Regions from separate parts of the Homo sapiens genome. Here region 1 is linked to region 2. The links are contacts of gene promoters, found by promoter capture Hi-C in blood cells and fetal thymus (Javierre and others, 2016). All regions are on one chromosome and are shown on one strand. The core of a region is centred on a gene start or on the middle of the fragment in contact, and the rest is flanking DNA. Distances in the headings are between cores, read along the strand shown. Region 1 overlaps SPACA6 (sperm acrosome associated 6). Region 2 holds the start of SCGB2B2 (secretoglobin family 2B member 2).

Region 1 (4,068 bases), core at 87-2,586, about 17 Mb before region 2:
AGGAGACCAAGGCTAAGGTGGTGGCCCAGTTAGAGAAGAGGCGTGGCCAGGTTAGTAGTAGTCCCGGAAAGGGGCTCAGTTGGAGACGAAACCTTTCATCGAAGGGGCGGGGCCAGATCAAAAATGGTCCACGCGGGGAAATAGTCGTCCCTCAAGGTCTGAGGCTCAGAGATGGGGCCAGGGGATTGTACGGGGAGTGGATGGGGGGTCTCAGGAGTGGGTTTCGTTTTGAGATGGAGTCTTGCTCTGTCACCCAGGCTGGAGTGCCGATCTCGGGTCACTGCAACCCCGCCTCCAGGGTTCAAGCAATTTTCCTGCCTCAGCCTCCTGAGTAGATGAGATTACAAGCATGCGTTACCACGCCCAGCTAATTTTAGTATCTTTAGTAGATATGGGTATCACCATGTTGGTCAGACTGCTTTTGAACTCCTGATCTCAAGTGATCTGCCCGCCTCAGCCTTCCAAAGTGCTGGGATTACAGGCGTGAGCCACCATCCCCGGCCAAAAGTGGGGTTTTCTAATTGTGTGTGTGTGTGTCTGGGGAAGGAGAGATGGAGTGTATTTTACCTTCTTTAAGCTGTGTAATGACCTTCTTCATTTTCTCCGCAGCATCAGGGAAGGCAACCTCAAAGGATCCTGGAGAGTGGAGGGGAGGACGGCCTGTGTAGTAAAGCCCTTCCCCCAGGGCTTGGTCCTTGGTCCTGCATTCTGATCTAGCCTGGCTAGGGCTAGGCTGGCCCTAGCTCACAGGACGTACTGTCATGGTATCTGCCCTTCCCTGGCCCCTCTTCACCCCTCTCATTACCATATTCTCTGCTCCTCTTCTCATCACCCGCCCTCTGTAGTTGAAGGCTAACAAGTCCCTAAGTCTCCTTTCTTCTGCCTCCTGAATCTCTCCAGGATGGAAGTCCTCCTGGACATCACCTGCATGTAGCTTGTTGGGGGGAGAAGGGGAGGATAAAGATCAAATTCCTCACCAAGGCCTATTAGGTCTTACATGGTTTGGCCTAGTTCCCCCTCCCTCCCTGTCCCATCCCTACTGCCCACCTTTCATTTCCTTTATTTTATTTTATTCAGACAGTGTCTCACTGTCACCCAGGCTGGAGTGCAGTGGTGCGATCTCGGCTCACCGCAACCTCCGCCTCCTGGGTTCAAGTGATTCTCCTGCCCTAGCCTCCCGAGTAGCAGGGACTGCAGGTGTGCACCACCACGCCTGGCTAATTTTTGTGTTTTTAGTAGAGATGGGGTTTCACCATGTTGGCCAGGCTGGTCTCGAACTCCTGACCTCAAGTGATCCACCCACCTCAGCCTCCCAAAGTGCTGGGGTTACAGGCATGAGCCACCGTGCCTGGCCTCATTTCCTTTAATATGAAAACCACCACATTCCCTAGCACCTCAGGGCCTTTGCACATGCTGGCTTGTTTTTAGCACATTTTTCCTTCTCCTAATCATCCTTCCATCACCACAAATCTAACCAAGTTCCCTGTTTTTGTCTCTCATCGCAATCATTTCATTCCTAGCTCTCATCTGTCTGCAATTACATATATTTATATATAGATGATGATCACTTATGTCTGTCTCGTAAGTAAATAAACATGTTCTTCTGTAGCACTGTGTCCTCTGGATCCTGGAGAGGGCCCTCAGTCTTAGAAGTGCTCAGTAAGTATTTGTACAATGAATTCCAGGATCCAACTTGAACTGGAGACCCCAGCTGGTGGCCTATGACCCAAATCCATCCCTGGGATGTGTTATATTTGGCCTGGAAAGTGTTTAAAAGAAAATGAACCAGTTGCCAACATATAAAATTTGGAATGTCAAATAAAACGTTTGGCATCTCTTTTTTACAAAGTTGGAAGAGCTGTAACACAGAGATCGCATTTCCATAAGGCAGCAATTAGCTGGAGATGGGTAGCAGTCACTCCCTTGAAATGGGGCACACACCGGCCACTTCTCCATAGTCCCCAGCCTCTATTCACTTCTATATTTACCCATCTTTTACTCTTTTATGTTCCTTGTCTTTGTAGGTGTTTGTTTTGTTTTGAGATAGAGTCTCGCTCTGTTGCCCAGGCTGGCGTACAGTGGTGTGATCTTGGCTCACTGCAACTTCCACCTCCCAGGTTCAAGTGATTCTCCTGCCTCAGCCTCCCCAGTAGCTAGGATTACAGGCACCCACCACCATGCTCGGCGAATTTTTATATTTTTAGTAGAGATGGGGTTTCACCATGTTGGCCAGGCTGGTCTCAAACTCCTAACCTCAGGTGATCCGCCTGCCTCGGCCTCCCAAAGTGCTGGGATTACAGGTGTGGGCCACCATGCCTGGCCTTGTGTTTTGACCACTGCAATGGCCTCCAAATTGTATGGGTTTGTGGCTTGTTCCAGTGGAATAAGAATAGACAGCTGACTTGATCTCGTGGTGATTTGTGGAAATCAGTAATGTGGCAGGGTTTTATCGGCTAAATCGTGCCGCCCACCCCCCATCCCCCGCAACCAAACTTGTATGTTGAAGTCCTAACTCCCAGTACCTCAGAATGTGACTGTACTTGGTTCTTAAAGAGGTGATTAAGTTAAAATGAGGTCATTAGGGTGGGCTGTAATGCAGTATGATTGGTGTCCTTATGAGAAGAGGAAATTAGGACACAGAGATGCACACAGGGACATATGAAGGAAGGCATCTACAAGCCAAAGAGAGAGGCGTGAGAAGAAACTAACCCTGCTGACACCAAAACCTTGGTCTCAGACTTCTAGAAGGCAGAAACTTCTGTTGTTCGAGTCACCCAGTCTACGGTACTTTGTTACAGTGGTCCTAGCAAACCAACACACAGGAATTGTTCACTGCCTCCAAATACCTATATATCTATAACCTATATCCACAGAACACAGATAAAAAGCTTCATCTCCCAGCCTTCCTTGCAGTTGTGGTCATGTGACCAAGTTGTAGCCATAGGATGCAAATGGATGTGTTATGTGAGTCACAGGAGGTGGCCTTAAAAGGGAGGTGGTACCGCACCTGGAATCACAGCTACTCGGGAGGCTGAGGTGACAGGATCACTTGAGGCCAGGAGTTCGAGACAAGCCTGGGCAACATATCCAGACACCATCTCTAAACAAATTTTTATAAATTAGCCAGGTGTGATGGTGTGCTTGTAGTCTTAGCTACTCAGGAAGCTGAAGTGGGAGGATGGTTGAGCCCAGGAGTTCAAGGCTGTAGTGAGCTATGATTGCACCACTGCCCTCCACCCAGCCTGGGCAATAGAGCAAGACCCTGTCTCTAAAAAACAAAGACAGAGAAGGTGGTGCCATCTTATTGTTCCCCTCATCCATCCTGCTGCCTGAAAATTTGTTTTGATGGTTGGAGCTCTAGCAGCCACACGGGACCATGAGGACAAGGGCTACTCCCTGGGATATTAAGTCTTGAAGGAGCTTGGATCCCCAAGAAATGGAGGTGCCATATTAGCCTTAAGTGCCTACCACAAGACTTACTTTATATAGGAGAGCTAAACTTCCTACGGGCTTAAAGCCATTGCAGGGACAGGGGAAAGCGTCCTCTGTGATTAAAGCCATACAAAAAGGGAGGGAACTGAGGATATTGGCAAGAAAGTGCCTAAAACAATGATCACTGGATATACACTTGGAGAGAGGAAGCACTGATGCCCAGAAGTGGGTTCCAAATGAGGACCCAGTGGTCTCTCCTTGGCCACAGAGCAGGAGTGTGGTCTCAAGATGGCAGGATGATCAGGAGCATGTGGTCAGACTGGGGTGCACAAATGAGAGGCCAGGATGTTGGAGGAGTCATCCAAAGAATTTCTATGTGCCAAATCAAATGACTCATGGGCAGGGTGAGCGTGGGATATACCAAGTAAGCCATGGTGGCCGGGTGGGCTTATACTCCACCAGGGGAGTATAAGTGGAGTGAAATGTTCCGAACAGGCCAAGTGGCCTGGGTTATAGCAAGCGGGCCATAAGGCGGCATGGGTGGGTGTTGTAAAGTCTCCCCCAGAGGAGTTGCATATCGTCAGGAGCTCTGACCCTGGTTCAGATCATCTGGGTCTGAGTCCTGGTGCTTCCGTC
Region 2 (3,834 bases), core at 1,335-3,834:
CAGCTAGTGAGTGACACACACTGTGGAAAACAACAAAGCAGTGATGGAGGAGTGGAAGCGCTAGGGAAGGTGACTGCAATTGCAAATAGGCTTTCAGGGAAGCTGTTCTGAGAAAGTAACCACGGAACAAACACAGAAGGAGATAAGGATGCAAGCTTGTGCGTATGTGGGGGAAGAATATTCCACGTGGATGGCACAGCAACTGGTGACAGAGGCTGGAGCGCACAGGAATGAGGAGGCAGAGAAGGAAGGTGGGATCAGGGAGGTAATGGCCTAATTGTACAAATAGGTCATTGCAGAAGTGACTCAGTTAGAACCACTGAAAAATTTTAGGTTGCGGAATGACAGGAATTTATATAACAATAGGACCATGGTCACAGCTGTACTGAGAACAGACTGATGAGGGTTAAGGGCAGATGCTGGGAATCCAGCTAGGAGGCTACCGCAATAATCCAGGTGGCTCGGACTGGGGTGGTAGTGGTGGTGGTGGTGATGGGCTAACTAATGGTCAGATGCTGTATACGGTGTATCGTTTAGATCCAAACTAGAGGACCTGAATATGAGTTATAAGTCAAAAGGAAGAATCAAGGATGACTCCAAACATCTCTTCACTTGAGACCACATGGTACAGTTTTGACAACCATAAACCGAATAACCTTACATTCCAAAGTTGCATTGTGAATTACAGTTTTAAAATGTTGGCAATCTAGAAAGTCTTCTAGCAGAAAACTGTAGAAAAGAGGAACACTGGGTGATGAGGACAATACCTTGGAGCTCTCCTGTGGGCTCCATTCTTCCTATAGTGAAAGGAACCATAGATCTAGTCCCTTAAATGGACTTGATTAGGTGGGAACAGGCAGGAGAAGCAAAGCAAACACACAGAGGCCTAATAAAGTGTTTCAGGAAGATTTGGGGACACACCGACTTACCTGAGACATTATTCTGCAATTTCCAATGGCCAACAGAGTCCCCTTTCCAGGTTCTTATCTTAGAGATGGGCAGTGTCCTGAGGGCACAGAAAGGCAGGAAAAAGCAGTCATGAAAAATCGGGCTTATCTTGCGGCACCTGTCACACACCTTAATGGAAAAGCACACTGGTAATCACTCGCCGGAGCGTCAATCTCTCCCTGGGAAGGAACAGGGTGTTTCTCCGCAAGGGCTATTTACCAGGTGCCACCTGCGGGGAAAATCAATTATTCTGTATACAAAAGACTCATAAAACAACGGTAACAACTTTATCAGCTCGTTCAGTCTTCACCACTTTGCAAGGTGTGCATTCATATTATTCCAGATTTTTTTTTTTTTTTTTTTGAGACGGAGTCTCGTTCTGTCTCCAGGCTGGAGTGCAATGGAGCGACCTCGACTCACTGCAACCTCTGCCTCCCGGGTTGAAGCGATTCTCCTACCTCAACCTCTCGAATAGCTGGGATTATAGACACGTGCCACCACGCCCAGCTAATTTTTTTTTGTATTTTTAGTAGAGACGGCGTTTCGCCATGTTCGTTAGGCTGGTGCGGTGGCTTACGCCTTTAATCCCAGCACTTCGGAAGGCGGAGGCGGGCGGATCGCTTGAGGTCGAGTTCTAAACCAGATTTATTTTTTAAAATGAAGACAAAACTGAAATTCCGAGATACTGAACCCATTTGTTCAAGGTTGCACAACTGAAAGCGCCGGCTTCATGACGACATAACCCAAAAAAAACTGTAGCTGGCGTCTGCTCTCGCGCCCACTTCGCTCTCACAACAGTGCCAAGAGGTCGGCGCCGTCATCACCCCGCGTTTACACGGCTCAACAGGAAGGCCAGGAAATGCCCAAGGCCCCGGCCGTGGTCAAACCGCGCGCGGACCCAGGGCCTTAGCCCCGCCGTCGCCGCGACCCACACTTGCCGGAGTCCTCAGCAGGGCCTCACCGTCCCGCAGGCGCCCCGAGCCCGCGCCTCCGCGGACCTGACGCGCCGCGTAGCTGGTGAGCGGGTAACGGCGGCCGACCTCCGGGAACGACACTGCCCCAAACCGTTCCTTAGCTTGGAAGCCGCCGCCAGGCCTGAAGCTATCGCGGGACTGACCCAGTGCACCGCCCACGGCGAACCACATTTCCCAGAATCCTCCCCCTGCGGTACAAATGTCCCGGAAGCCGCGAACCGCCGGCACCCGAAGACCACACTTCCCAAGGGTCTCTGCGGCTGCGCGGACCTGGTGCGCCGCGGGCAAACCGGTCACGGCTTTGTAAGTAGCTTAACCGCCTGGGGCCGTCGACCTAGAGCCGGCCAGCTAGGACCATGCGCAAATTGTCCTGGGGCACACAGTCGTCCTCTGGTGAACGATACAACTCGAAACCAAGGGACACCCTCTACTTATAAGGGCCATGGCGCCCGGACCAAGAAATTACATTTCCCAGAAAACTGCAGCCGTGCCAAGGTCTTCCGGGTCATTCCTGCGCTCACACAAACGTTTCCCTCCGAGACATGGGCAGCCCTTGCTGGTACCGCGCAAGTGCTCGCCGTTGCTAGCAAAGGGGCTCCTCTCATCCCAAACCCTGCCGCTATGCTGTTCACCTTCAGGTCTTTTTTTTTTTTTTTTTTTGGCACTCATTTGCCCAAGACGATAACTCACAAAACGCCCTGTGGCCCGACTGTCACGACTGTAGTTCGCCAACCAAGGGCATTTCCTGGAAATGCAAGGGGACACGTATCTGTGACACTAATGGCCGTTCTGACGTGCGTTACGCCCCTGGAAGGACTTGGAAATACTGAACTTGAGTGAGCACTGGGAGGATGGAGACCCTCATCCTGGGAGGAGTCACTCCTCCCGCAGCCATCACAGCCTGACGCCCCCTCTCCCCAGAAGTGCTTCTTAGGCCCACCCAAAAGGGCAATGGACCTCTCTGTATGCAAGCCAGAGCAGTCTACTGTTTGTGTATATTTGGGTTGTTTACTTTCTTTTTAACACTTAAATGTTAATTGACTTCAATCATTTTTAAAATTATAAATAGTGTCGCTATAGACTTTTTTGTACTTATTAAGTACTGACCTGCATGATCTTCGTGAAGCAGTGCTTCTGTTACCAGAAAGGGGTCCGGATCCGACCCCAAGAGAGAGTTCTTAGAGCTCACGCAAGAAAAAATCCATGGGAGAGCACAGTGCAAAGCCAAAGCAAGTGTATTAAGAAAGTAAAGAAACAATGGGTACTCCATTGTTAGAGCAGCAGCTTGGGCTGCTGGACTAGGGATACTTGTATTTATTGCTTGATGATGTGCTAAACAAGGGTGGATTATTCATGAGTTTTCCAGGAAAGAGGTGGGCAATTTCAATTTCTCGGAGCTGAGGGCTTCCCAGCTTTTTGAACCATACAGGGTAACTTCTGAACCTTACCATGGCATTTGTAAATTGCCATGGCACTGATGAGCGTTTCTCTTAGCGTGCTAATGCATATAATTAGCATATAACCGAGAGGTGAAGCCAGCTGGGCTTCTGGATCAGGTGGGGCCTTGGAGAACTTTTCTGTATAGCTGAAGGATTGTAAATACACCAATCAGTGCTCTGTGTCTAGCTAAAGGTTTGTAAATGCACCAGTCAGCACTCTGTAAAAACGGACCAAACAGCACTCTGTAAAATAGACCAATCAGCGCTCTGTAAAATGGACAAATCAGCAGGATGTGGGCGGGGCCAAATAAGGGAATAAAAACGGGCCACCCGAACAACCAGCGGCAACCGCGCTGGGGTCTACTTCCCAGGTGTGGGATGTTTGTTCTTTTGCTCTTTGGGTCTGCACTACCTTTATGAGCTGCAACACTCACCCTGAAGGTCTGCAGCTTCACTCTTGAAGCCAGCGAGAC

Evidence for each region. Contacts are between HindIII fragments. The CHiCAGO score rates a contact against its expected background, and 5 or more counts as called.
Region 1: a fragment that was not itself captured here is called in contact with the fragment with the promoter of SCGB2B2 in region 2 in 1 of 17 cell types (fetal thymus); the score reaches 7.0 in fetal thymus.

What each region holds. Positions count from the first base shown.
Region 1 is chr19:51,698,226-51,702,293 of GRCh38, reverse strand. It overlaps SPACA6 (sperm acrosome associated 6), which reads right to left. Exons shown (of 9, transcript NM_001316972.2): 3 at 568-636. Among named protein-coding and RNA genes, the nearest start is that of SPACA6-AS1, 6.8 kb to the right of the region's middle. The HindIII fragment of the contact is 3,108 bases long and covers 1-2,890 here.
Region 2 is chr19:34,675,909-34,679,742 of GRCh38, reverse strand. It overlaps SCGB2B2 (secretoglobin family 2B member 2), which reads left to right and starts at 2,584. Exons shown (of 4, transcript NM_001025591.4): 1 at 2,584-3,834. ZNF302 (zinc finger protein 302) reads right to left here and starts at 2,065. Exons shown (of 5, transcript NM_001289187.2): 1 at 1,640-2,065; 2 at 930-1,006. The coding sequence starts at 938. It also overlaps the pseudogene ZNF807P and the pseudogene SCGB1B2P. RefSeq lists enhancers at 1-441, 1,299-2,195, 2,327-2,386, 2,437-2,536, 2,196-3,093 and a silencer at 1,817-1,876. The HindIII fragment of the contact is 5,389 bases long and covers 158-3,834 here.